Regions from separate parts of the Homo sapiens genome. Here all the other regions are linked to region 1. Evidence: promoter capture Hi-C in 16 types of primary human blood cells and fetal thymus (Javierre and others, 2016). All regions are on one chromosome and are shown on one strand. Each heading gives the region's core, a stretch centred on a gene start or on the middle of the fragment in contact. The rest is flanking DNA. Distances are from core to core; before and after follow the strand shown. Region 1 holds the start of ALDH1A3 (aldehyde dehydrogenase 1 family member A3). Region 2 overlaps SPATA41 (spermatogenesis associated 41). Region 3 has its middle 210 kb from the start of LYSMD4.

What was found. Contacts are between HindIII fragments. The CHiCAGO score rates a contact against its expected background, and 5 or more counts as called.
Region 2: a fragment that was not itself captured here is called in contact with the fragment with the promoter of ALDH1A3 in region 1 in 4 of 17 cell types (total CD4 T cells, naive CD8 T cells, M0 macrophages and 1 more); the score reaches 7.2 in total CD4 T cells.
Region 3: a contact is called between a fragment that was not itself captured here and the fragment with the promoter of ALDH1A3 in region 1, in 4 of 17 cell types (naive CD4 T cells, total CD8 T cells, total B cells and 1 more). The highest score is 6.7, in naive CD4 T cells.

What each region holds. Positions count from the first base shown.
Region 1 is chr15:100,878,560-100,882,606 of GRCh38, reverse strand. ALDH1A3 (aldehyde dehydrogenase 1 family member A3) reads right to left here and starts at 2,776. Exons shown (of 13, transcript NM_000693.4): 1 at 2,601-2,776. The coding sequence starts at 2,699. LOC124903575 (collagen alpha-1(I) chain-like) reads left to right here and starts at 2,804. Exons shown (of 1, transcript XM_047433433.1): 1 at 2,804-3,661. The coding sequence starts at 2,804. The coding sequence ends at 3,586. RefSeq lists an enhancer at 1,730-2,244 and a silencer at 2,736-2,855. The HindIII fragment of the contact is 4,913 bases long and covers 1-4,047 here.
Region 2 is chr15:100,344,006-100,348,456 of GRCh38, reverse strand. It overlaps SPATA41 (spermatogenesis associated 41), which reads left to right. Exons shown (of 2, transcript NR_028139.1): 2 at 2,830-4,000. Among named protein-coding and RNA genes, the nearest start is that of ADAMTS17, 4.3 kb to the right of the region's middle. The HindIII fragment of the contact is 3,244 bases long and covers 39-3,282 here.
Region 3 is chr15:99,940,120-99,944,226 of GRCh38, reverse strand. No RefSeq gene overlaps it. Among named protein-coding and RNA genes, the nearest start is that of LYSMD4, 210 kb to the right of the region's middle. The HindIII fragment of the contact is 200 bases long and covers 1,966-2,165 here.

The DNA.
Region 1 (4,047 bases), core at 1,527-4,026:
AGGTGAAGATGACAGTCATACAAGTGAATCCTATTGATGCCGATTTCCCGTAACTTCCATCTGACAACAGGCCACTCAGCTAAACTCAAAAAGAATATGTTTTCAGAAAAGGAGATTTGGGGGAATTTTATTTTTCATAAGAGAGATAATAAAAACCGGTGTTTTAAAAATCAGAAAACTTTGAAGAGAATCCCTGCTACTGGAAGAAATTTTATAAGGAAAGAAAGAGGCCCTCTAAATTAGAAGGGACTTCTATCCTCTGAGATCTGTGTGGGGACCCTGGAGGGGCTCTCAGCTCTCCAGAATCACACAGCATGACCCTAGAGAATGAAATGTTAACATGTGAGGACAAATGAAGGGGCTTTGACAAAGTCATCCTGAAAGTTGGACCACCCTGGGAAATGGCACTGCCGGGGCTAGGGCTCAGATGGACCAACTCTGGTGTGTGCCCCATTATCGAGAAGCACCATGAGTCAATTTTGGAAAATAGCAGACCACTGCTGGCTCCCATGCTCCACCGTCTGCTCTCCTGCCAGGCCACCCACCTGCCGGGCCACTCGCCCACTCTGGGCCTCAGTCCTGCACTTCAGTTTATCCCGCTCCTTCCCTCGGCAGGCACTCTTGGTGGCCTCACTCTCGGCCGCCTCTCCAGTCCAGTCTCCCTGAGGACTGTGCCAGGGCACTGGTTGGCCACCCTCAGCCACACAAGCTGCCTGGGTCCACAACTGCTATGGGGAGGTCTCTGCAGAGATGGGCCAGGAGCCAGGACAGAGCAGGCAGCAGCACAGTCCCCCAACGGGTGAGGAGCCAGCAGCCGGTGTCAGGCAGTTGGGGCCTTTATCGCCTGGGAGACCACTCAAGATCCCAGCACTCCAGGCCGATCCACCAGCTTCCCTCAGCCTCATTCCTGCACTGGTTCCCTTTAACTGGCAAAGGTTGCGCACCCACCAAGACAACAGGCAACCATTGCTCTGTGAATTGTCTAAGGTCTCCATAAGGGCTACATCTACACTTTAAAAGTGTCCTAAAAATCATAGAGAAAGAGGTAAACTTTTTGTATGTGGTCAGATTGCTGATAGGACTCAAAAACATAAAAAGTAAAAGGACCATAATACATTTACTGTCTGGTTTCTATATACAGTATTTTGAAATCCTGTACAACCAAAAGAAAACAAACAACCTCCCCACTTAACCATCAGTAGCAGCAGCCAAGCACCTGGGGTTAGGGTCTTACAAAATTCGGGTACCATTTTCACTCTTCCCAGAATTCGTGTTGGAATTTTCACTCTGAAGCTGATATTACAAATAAAACTACATTAAGAATAATTTCCAGCGTTTAGTTTACAGCGACGTGTCTTTGTTGATTACAGAGCCTTCTGAAAACAGTTAATTTAAATGTCTTGTGATCAGAGGCTCAGCCGACATTGGGAATTAAGTGCCAAGAGACCCAAATCTGAAGGCCACACATAGTGCCCTGCAACTTTCTCCGCTTGATTAAAATTCTTTGAGAAAGATAATTGCTACTTCTTAAAGTAAAACGGATGAGGAAATTCTCTAAGTGCGGTGTCAGCTGGAGTTGGGGGCTATGGGTAAAAGCAAAAATCAAGAGAAGCCAAAGGTGGGGAAAGTTAAGGCAATGGCTCTCGGCCTGGCCTGTGCCTCTAAAGTGCCCCAGCACCGGCCCACGACAGACGCGCACGCCAGACAGCCTGGGGGTGTCCTCCATCGGGTCGCGCTCCCGGACCCGGGTCTCTCGGCCCTCCTCAGCCCCAGCTCAGAGGCCTCGGAGGCCTCACCATCTTCTTTTATTCCTTTCTGCCCCGGGCAGGTAATCTCGCCGTTCTGCCAACGCTGTAGCCTCCCAGCCCACAGAGCGAGGAGGCAGAGAACCGTGCGCTTCTGCGGCCTCGCGACCCACCGCTTCCCAAAGGCCCAGGTCTGCGACCTTCCGGAGCGCGCGCCTTGTGTGTAAACACCGGGACCTCTGGGCTCCGGGGAGGTTTCGTCAGTAAGCGAGCACCTTCCTACTCCTCCTCGTTCTGCTGCTGAGCCGGGTATAAACTAAGCACGGAAGGCGCCCGCTGCGCTTTGCTCGGAGGACCCGCTTCCCCAGTCTTCCAACTGCAGCTCCGCCATCTGCCTCCCGGACTCTCTCTTGGCGCTCTCGGACCCTCCGACCCTCTCAAAGCCAGACTCGTCCACCCTGGAAATCATCGCAGGGGTTTTTGGGGAGGGAGCTCCCCAAAACCAGCGCGCTCCGAGTCAACGCGGCGCGCACCTCCACTCGCGATCAAAGCGGGCAGCGCAGGGACACGTCGGGGCCTCGCAGGGATGCGGGCGGCCCGGCCCCGCGCGGGCGCTGGACGGCCTCGGTTTCCCGGCTTCGAGGCTCACAGCGCCGAGCCCCGCCGCCTGCGATCCCGCCCGAGACGTCCCGCGAAAGGTGCGGTTTCTGGAGAGCCGCGCCCGGGCAGGGAGGCTCGGGTCTCGGCGGCGCCCGGCGGACCCCCGGCCCGCTGCTCCCTCGCCCCCGCCGCCCCGAGTCTGGCTGCCCAGCGCAGGGGCCCGCGGCCGTCGGGTGGGAGGGGCGCCCGCCTCACCTTGGTGAACTTGACCTCCAGGTTGCGGATGGGGCGCGGCAGGGCCGGCGGCTTCCTGTCCGGCTGCCCGTTTTCCACGGCCCCGTTAGCGGTGGCCATGGCTCCTCCGCGCTCCCTGGCCCGAGGCGCCCTAGTCTGCGGCGCACCGGCTCGGCCCGGACACTGCGCAGCCCGCTCCCGGGGTGGCAGCTCCCCGCCGCTTTATGCAGCGCCCCACGCCTCCCGCCCGAGGGGGCCGCCTAATTGGCTGCGGGACCGGAGGAAGGGAGGGCGGGCTGCGGGAGGGAGGAGAGGGGAGGGCGGCCGGCCCGCCTCACCCCGCCCCGCCCGCCGCCCCTGCGGGAGCCCGAGCGCCGGCGGCTCCACCCGCGTGCCGCGGACCGTCCCGGCGCCCGCGCCGCGCGCTCTCTCGCCCCGGAGGCTGCCTGTGGACGAGCTCCCCGAGGAGCCGCCGGGCCCCGGAAGTCGCAGGGCTGGGACACCCGACCCGGCAGGGAGCTGAGCCGCGGGGCCACGGCGCCCCGCTGCCTCCCCGAAGTCGGGCGGGCTCCCCGCGCGGCACATGCAGCCCACTCCCAGCCGCCGCACGGCGCGCTCGCCCGACTTCGGCCGGCTCGCGGCGCTCGGGAATGCGCGCTCTCCGCCGGGCCCTGCGCCGCGCCCGGGTCGGGGCTCCTGGCGGGGCCGCCCCGCGTCGCTGCGCACGTGCCCTGCTCTTGGGTCCAGCCGCCCGATCCCCGCTAGCAGGACAGACGCCCGCTGCGCCCCACCCTGCCCGAGCGCGGACAGCCGGCGGGCGCACCCCGGCCCAGCCGGCCTGGAGTCTCCCCGGGGCCCTGGGGCTTCGCCCGCGGTGGGGCAGAAGGCGAAAGCAAAGCGCCGGACCCGGGCGGCTCTCCGCCGAGGAGCCCTGGCGCCGCTGGGCCTCTGACCTTCGCAGGCGCACACCGCCTTCCATCCCAGAGCCCGGGGGGCAATTGATCTGATTTTTTAAATGCATAAATTATACCTCGATTAAAAAATGATAATTAAAAAAAAGCACATGAGACCTTTGCTGCTAATCGTTTTAAGAGTTTAAATTCTTGTCGCGCATTACTTCCCAGGAGGGGGAGGTAAGTCTAGCTCCTCTCCTTTTGCGATTTGGGAAACGCTCCATCAACTCCCAGGACTTGACCCAGGCCCCATCTGAGACACGGAAGCGGCTTCTGATGCATGCCATTCCTCAGGTCGCTGGAACAAAGACCGGAGGCACGGACTCCTGACAAAAGCTGTGCTTTAATCCTCAGATAGGCTCAGCCCCTTCAGTTCATCTCTTTCTGTAGGTAACCCCAAGTAATCAACAATGGGGAGGGGTCTCCTTATTTTCCTGTTTTGAGGCCTCCGTGTCCATCTCTCTGTCCCCTGGTGTCCTTCTGGATAGAGCTGGATAGAGGGGTAAGTTTTGAAG
Region 2 (4,451 bases), core at 411-2,910, 530 kb after region 1:
GTATGCAAATACCTGTTGGAGTCCCCGCTTTCAAAGCTTTGGGGTACACATCCAGAAACGGAATTGCTGGATCATAGGGTAAATCTATTTTGGAGGAATAGTCGTACTGTTTTCCACAGTGACTGTACCATTTTACATTCCCACAAAATTATTTCTTTCTATCTGCCTTCCCCCACTAGATAGAACACAGGGAAGTTACTTTTTCGTTTCTAAATCCCCAGCACCAGGAACAGTGTCTAGTTCATAACAGAGCTCTATAGAGAACTGTGGGGAAAGAAGTGCAATTTATATGCTGCTGCCTCTTCATTTGGCATCTCAGTACGTGGCACACAGAAAGTAGGCACTGAAGAAGGGTTGAAGGACCTAATGAGTACATAAATGAATGCAGTTACCATTGCTTTTTCCTTGGTCTAGACTGAGGACAGACATTTTTGTAAATTAAGCTACTTAGTTAAATGTAGACCTCTGGCCAGTTTTGCTCATCCAGAAGTTTCACTTTAATGCCACTTCAAAGATACTGTTTTCTGTAAATCAGATCATAATTGTGATGAGAATGATGTGGGGATGTGTCCTGGACTCTCCCCATCCCCCACCTCACAGCCTAATGTATAACGCACATTTTATTCAGGACCATTTTGGATGTGTAGGATCTGCTCCAGAACACAGGATAATGGGCCTCTTTTCTGGGGATGGTGTGGTTCCATCATTAGATAGCAGGTGTGTCATCTGCAGGTACTGGTCTCACTATTCAACCACTGGTTGAAAGATTGGTTCAAGATCAACTCTTTGAAAAATCAAAGTATTACTTTTACAAATGCTTTTTTGATATTTCTCAACCAATTAACCTTGAAAAGTTCACCATGAAGTTGAATTGCCTAAACTTATACATTGTATGGGCACTGAGATGCAATTTTTAGGGCTGTGTGGGCATCAGCGATGCCTGTTTTCAATACATTGTAGCTATGCTCAGTGTCATGGGCCTTGTAGGGCTGACCTCTTTTTGTCCAAGCATTGAAGCCAATCTAAAACTCTTTTCCAAAAAGAAAATGTTTTCTTTGCTAATAAGTCACCATCAACTGCAGCAGAGGCAGCTGTTTGGGCTTCACAATTTGCGGAAGCACATGCCAGCCTGGCTCTGTTTTGTGCTTGTTCACAGTATATGGCTTTGGCCTTGTTCAGCATCAGGGAGTAGCTGTTCCTTGGGTCATGCATGGAGTTGGATTTAACCCTGGCTTTCAGCTGGCCAGTCCTCATCAGGAGCTTGGGCAGGAGAAATAGTACTCTGGTGAATGGTCTGAAGACATTAGATCATAGATGACCTTGGCTGCAAGCAACTAAATCCAGACCACAACAGTTTATCCAAATAGGGTTAACCAAACAAGTACAATGTGTACCCAAATGATATCAGTGTCCCATGATCCTTCCATCATCCACTGGATGATTTCTTAATTCAAAGTCAAACAAAAACAAAAGCAGATTTGAAACATTCTCATCCATCCTTGAAACTGGATCACATGCCATGGTCTCGCTCTTTGAAGTGGTCAACTGAACAGCTGGATACATGGTCTGGAGCTGGGAGGAGGAGTGCCTTAGTCCATTCCTGCTGCTATGACAAAATAGCTTAGACTTGGTAATTTATAAATAATAGACATTTATTTCTCATTGTTCTGGTGGCTGGGAAGTCCAAGGTCAAGGTGCCGGCAGATTCAGTGTCTGGTAAGCTCTCTGTGTCCAGGATGACACCTTGTTGCTGCATCTTCTGAAGAGGACAAATGCTGTGTCCTCATATGGCAGAAGAGATGCAGGGCAAAAGGGCCAAGAAGCCCTCTTGAGCCTCTTTAATGAGGGCATTAATTCCATTCATGAGGGCAGAGCCCTCATGACTTTGGGCCTTAACCCAAAAGGCTCCACCTCTTAATACCAGCACAATGAGGTAAGTTTCACCATGAATTTTGGAGGGACATAAACATTCAAACCGCGGCAAAGAGTCTGGACCAGGGGATGACTCTGTGAAGTGCGTGCTTGTCCACTGCCAAAAGAAAGGGATAAGATGAGGAATGCGAAGCTGAGAAGGGGAGGGTTCGAGATCAGCACTGCATTGAGAGAAAGGGGAGTTGGGCAGAGGAGTGTAGTAGCAATGGTGGGCATGGCGATGGCTCAAATGAAGAAGGTGATTGCAGATTTCCCTGTTGCATGCTTGGCTCCAGTGGTGTTCAGAGCTCAACCACATGCTCAGTGAGAGTAGAGAGTTGAGTTTACCCAGGCCTGTAGTTCTGCATGACAACTGCAGTGAAAAGGGATAGGGGAGGGTGCTGAGCATATTGGCAAGAGTGTTTTCAGAGTCATGGGGCCTGGAATGCAAGCTGGATATGGAGGCAAGTGAAGAGAGGCTGGTGGGTTGGGAGATGCAGACTGAGAGACCTTCTGAGGTAGGAGCATTTGGACGAGCATGCTGGGAGGACAAGAAGCTGTGGTCAGAGGTGGATGTTCAAGTTTTGGAAGGTGGAACAGCTAGGGGTGATGACAAGGTGTAGGGTGTGAATTTGAGAGTGGACAGTTGGGGCAGCATAGCACAGAAGGTCACTGAAGGAGGAAATTGAGGAGCCCAGAGCCCAGGGTGGGGGATGGGAGTTGTCTATATGTGTGTCTGTTAGGGGTCGAGTTTGGCTGCATATAACAGACAACCCAAATAGCAACAGCTTAAAAGAGACAAGAGTATATTTTTTTTCTGATATAGCAAAAAGTGCAGAAGTAGACAGCTCAGGTCTGGCATGGTGACTCCAAGATGTCATCAGCAACCCAGAGTTCATTGATCTTTTTGCTTCCCAGGGGTCTGGCACTCTTCCTCATGCTTACGAGATGGCTGCTGGAATTCCAGGAATCACATGCAAATTCTAGTCAGGAGCAAAGAGGAAGAGACACAGTGAAAAGGGGTATACAGCGGCAGAAGGAAGCTCCTCAAATGAACTCTGCTAGAACTCTAGCCAGTAGCTTCTCCTTCTATCACAGTGGCCAGAACTGTGACAAGTGACCATCCTTAGGGGAAAAAAGATGCTGAGAAATGTGAATTTTGTTGCCACCTTACATTTTCAAAGGAGTTCCATTCGTAAGTACAGAACGCTCAGAGAAGAGGCAGCAGATCTAGGATATGGAGCAGCAGCTCTTAAGGGCACAGTGGGAAGGTTTCAAGACTGAGGAGGATCTTGGATTTGGGTAGGGGAAGGCAGTTCACAGTATTGTGGAGGAAATGCTGTGAAAGAGAAAGTGGAAGGCATGGAAGCTTAAACTTTTAATATGACTGGTGAATACAAGGATGAAGGGCAAAGGGAATTCAGACTCATGGTGGTCAGATTAAGACCTTCAGCGGCTCTGTCTCCCAGCCCCACATACCCACTTCCATGTTCTGCTCTTTACTGAAGCTGAAAGTCTGCAACCTTCATTCTCTGACTCCCTTACATTTTCTTAGGCTTCTTGCTAGCTTCTGCCAAAAAGAGGCCCTGGCAGGAGATTAGATGGCAGGAGGCAGAGGTAAGGATTCCATGTTAACAGGTGCTGGAAGTTGCTGGTGTGGCAATGAGAACTGGGCCCCGGTCAAGGCAGCACTACTTTGGTAGATCCAGAATCAACCATGATAACCGTGACAGTGTCTTCAACAGTGCAGCAGTAGACACAGGCCCCTGGTGCTGGAATCCAATACAGGGACAGGAGCAGCACGGAGTCACGGAACACCGTCTTGCCTTCATGTCACTTTACCATTTCTTCTTTCTCCCTCTTACTCTACCAGCTACCTGTGGAGATGTTGAACCTTTTATCTGTCGCTGTCTGCTTAGGAACAGAAGAAAAGGCAGCTGATTGCTTGACTCAGCTTTCAGCTTGATTTTTTTCCTTTGGCAGAGTGAATTGGGGTCCCAGGTGTTCATTTTCCTTTTGTAGTACCTTTCCTCAGCATGCAATTAATACAAAAAGAACAATAAACCTTAACAAAGTTTGGCTTGTATTATTCCAGACTTTCCTCTTGGATTTTATGTACACTTATCTGAATCCATGCAGATCATGTCATGTGTGTCTGTGTGTTTATACACATTTTTTTTTCGGTGTGCCTCATTCTGCAACTTGATTTTTTAAAAAATTCGATAACTGATCTTGGAGATCTGTCCATGTTGTTACATATATGAGATTTTTGTATTTCCTTTAATTAATGGTGTTCAAGTAGCCGTTTATGTAACGATGAACATTCAGGTTTTTGCAATTTTTTGCTCTTAATAAGGTGCCCTGGTGAACAAACATTCTTGTACATGTGCCAGAGTTTCTCTGGAGTAATTAACCAGCGTGGAATTACAGAGTTGTAGAATGTGTGCATTTTTAGTTTTATTAAAACTAAAAAGTAAAACTTTAATTTTACAGTTTGCCCAATTGTTCCTCAGAGTGGCTGTGCCAATTTATACTCTCCA
Region 3 (4,107 bases), core at 816-3,315, 940 kb after region 1:
CCAGTTGCTACTGTGCCCTGCCCCTCCAGGCCTGAGCTGAAGTGGCACACTGCATCCTGGGGAAATGCTACATTGGCTGTCTAGAGCATCCATACTCTCCAGGCCAGAACTGAAGTGGCACCCTGCATTCCAGCAAATGGTGCCCTGACTGCCCAGAGCAGCCACACTCCCCAGGCCTCAGCTGAAATGGTGCATCACCTCCGGTGTAATTAATGCCTTGGCCAAGCTAAGCAGTGGCACATCCCAGGGATGAACTGACATGGTCCCCTGTGTCCCAGGGAAATAGGGCAGTGGCTAAGCTGCGACACCCCATCCTACTGGGCAAATAACTGTAGTACCTTGCTTCTCTGGAACTGGACTCACCCCTAGAGTCTGAGCTGCTGAGACATTTCACTCACAAGGAATAGTGCCATTGTCGTACTTCTCCCTGCCTCCCCCTCCCCAACTGGCGCTGTGGACCCAAGTGAAAGCTGAACTCTGCTAATCTGAGATCCTTGTTGCAGCCTCACCTTGCCTTACCGAGCCTCCCATTTCCCACCATCCCAGGGTCCAGAGTCATGACTACATGGTGTTTCATCCCCCCTACGCCTGAGTTGCCATTGTACCCTATTGGCTCTGGTTCCTGAATTGCAGCTGTACCCCTGATGCCCAGGCTCACACCTCCAGAGCTCCCCTTCTTCTATGAAGCTAGGCCAGTGCTATTCCCTAACCCCTAGAGTCGGAGTCACAGCTACAACCCGGCCGCCTGGGTTCAAGCTGCTGGGAGTTGCCTCAGATTATAGACTCTGGCTCTGTGGGCAGTCTGCATGCAACCCTTCCTTCAGAGATTGAACCTGTACCCCAAGACCCAGGTGCCACAGTTCGTTCTCAAGACCCTGAGTCCAGGGCCCAAGCTCCACATTTGCTCTTGTCACCTGTGACCTGGAACCCCACGCTGCTGCAGCTGCTCGTGGGCTGTGTCAGAACATCAAAAGGGGTCCTCTCAGCTAGTCTTCTCATTGTGGGGAAAAGAAAAACAGGAGGACCCCAAAAGCTGTTGCCACCTGGGATCCTAACAACCTACACTGCCACTGCTGCTGCCACATATTGCTATAGCCTAGGCTACTGAGGCACCCAGTCATTGCTGATGTTGATCGTAGCTGAAGCAGCTGCATGGAGGTTATACTACTGTGTCTACTCAGATGCAGAGTAGAACCACCATATTCTTCCCAACTGGTATACTAAGACTTTCCCTGCAAAAACCACTCTGTAAAGTTTGGAAAAGGTAATCATTCCATCAGATGTGCAGACATCAATGCAGGAACACAAGAAACATGAAAAAGCCAGAAAAGGCCAGACATGGTGGCTCATGCCTGTAATCCCAACAAACACATTGAGAGGCTGAGGCAGGAGGATTACTTGAGCCCAGGAGTTTGAATATGTTCCCCATAACTTCCTATGTTACCCACTCTGGGTAACATAGGAAGACCCTATCTCTACAAAAAAAATGTAAAATAAAAAAATTACTCAGGCATGGTGGCACATGCCTGAGATCACAGCCACTCAGAAAGCTGAGGTGGGAGGATTGCTTGAGCCTGAGAGGTTAAGGCTGCAGTGAGCCATGATCATGCACTGCACTCTAGCCTGGGTGACAATGGGACACTGCCCCACTCCCCTCCTCCCCCAAAAAAAGGAAGAAGAAAAAGCCAGGAAACATGATACCACCAAAGGAACATAATAATTCTCAGGCAACTGACCTTCCCCCCTCCCCAGAAAGGGAAGTTTACAAATTGCCTAAAAAGGAATTCAAAATAGTGACCTTAAGAAAACTCAGATATAAGAGAATACAGATAGACAATTCAATGAAATTAGGAAAACAGTTCATTATCTGAATGAGAAATTCAACAAAAGAGATATCATAAAAATTTAATCAAACCTTGGAGCTAAAAAATTTAGTTAACAAAATAAAACATACAATAGAAAGCTTAAACAGCAAACTAGATCAAGGAGAAGAACGAATCTTTGAACTTGAAGATGAGTCTTTTAAAATTAGTCAGAGGAGGGAAAACAAAGAATGAAAAAGAGTGAAGACAGCTTATAGGACCTGTGGGATGCCATTAAAAGAACAAATATTTGCATTATGAAAGTTCCAGAAGGAGAAGAGACAAAGATAGAGAAAGAAAGCTTATATAATAAATTGCTGAAAACTTCATAAGCCTTGGAAGATACATGGATATTCAGATACACAAAGCTCAACTTTTCCCAAATAGATTCAACCCAAAGAAGTCCACTCTAAGACACATTATAATTAAACTATCAAAAGTCAATGACAACATTTTAAAAGCAGTAGCAGAAAAATGTCAAGTCACATAAGGGAATGCCAATTAGACCATCAGTGCATTTCTCAGCACACACCTTGTAGGGCAGGAGAGAATGGAATGACATATTCGAAGTGCTGAAAAGAAACTGCTAACTATACTGCTATACTCAGCAAAGCTGTCCTTCAGAAATAAATGAGAAATAATCTTTCCCAGACAAACAAAAGTTGAAGGAATTTATTACCACTAGACCTTCCTTACAAGAGATGTCTAAGGGAGTTCTTTAAGTGGAAATAAAAGGACACTAATAACTAACATGGAAACATATGAAAGTATAAAATTCACTGGTAAAGGTAAATATATAGTCAACTCTAGAATATTCTAATATTGTTATATATAGTTCTATAAAGTATATATAGATACAGATAGTATAAAGGTTAAAGACCAAAATAGTCAAAGAAAAAAAAGCTATATTAAGAGATACATAATATAAAATGATGTAAACTGCAACATCAGAAATATAAATGAGGGAGGGTAAAAGTCTAATGTTTTTGTATGTGACTGAAATTAAGGTGTTTTCAGTATGAAATAGTCTATAGTTTTACGTAAGCCTTATGGTAACCACAAAGAAAAAAAAAGTATAGCAGATACACAAAGTAAAGAGAAAGAAATAATAATAGTGCTACAGAAACTCATCAAATCAAAGATGAACAAGAGAGAAAGGAACAAAGGATCTACAAAACAACCAGAAAACAAAAAAGTGGCAGTAGTAAGTCCTTACCCATCAATAATTACTTTGAATGTAGTAAGTGGATTAAATTCTTTAATCAAAAGACAGAGTGGCTAAATGGATTTTTTTTTAATAATAAGGTTAAGGATATGCTGCCTACAAGAGACCCACACTAGCCTTAGGGACAAACTGACTGAAAATGAAGGGTTAAAAGATATTTCATGCAAATGATAACCAAAAGAAAGCAGTGCAGCTATAATCACAGCAGATAAAATAGACTTCAAGTCAAGAACTGCCACAAGAAAAATGCACCTACTAAAAATGCAAAAATTAGCAGGGTGTGGTGCTGCACATCTGCAATCCCAGCTACTCAGAAGGCTGAGGCAGGAGAATCACTTGAACCCAGGAGGCAGAGGTTGCAGTGAGCCAAGATCACGCCACTACACTCCAGCCTGGGTGACAGAGTGAGAGAATTCATTAAAAAAAAAAAAGAGAGAGAAGAAAGATTCCAACTAAACACTAAACATTTAGCCTAATATTATGCCCCAAGGAACTAGAGAAAGAACAGATTAAACCCAAAGTTAGCAGAAGGCAGGAAATAATAATCTGAGCAGAAATAAGCCAAATAGAGAACAGAAAAACCATAGGGAAAAATTCAATAATAAGAGTAGGCTGGGCACAGTGGCTCATGCCCATAATCCCAGCACTCTGGGAGACCTAGGAGGGTGGATCACTTGAGGTCAGGAGTTCGAGATCAGTCTGGCCAACGTGGTGAAACCCCGTCTCTACTACAAGTACAAAAATTAGCTGGGTGTAGTGGCATATGCCTGTAGTCCCAGTTACTTGGGAGCCTGAGTCAGCAGGATTGCTTGAACCCAGAAGGTGGAGGTTGCAGTAAAAAAAGATCGCACCACTGCACTCCAGCCTGGGCAACAGAGTGAGACTCCCCCTCAAAATAATAATAATAATAATAATAATAATAATAATAATAATAATAATAGGAGTTGGTTTTTTGAAAAAAAAAAAAAAAGCCCTTAGCTAGACTAAGTAAAAAGGTGAATAGACTCAAATACATAAAAT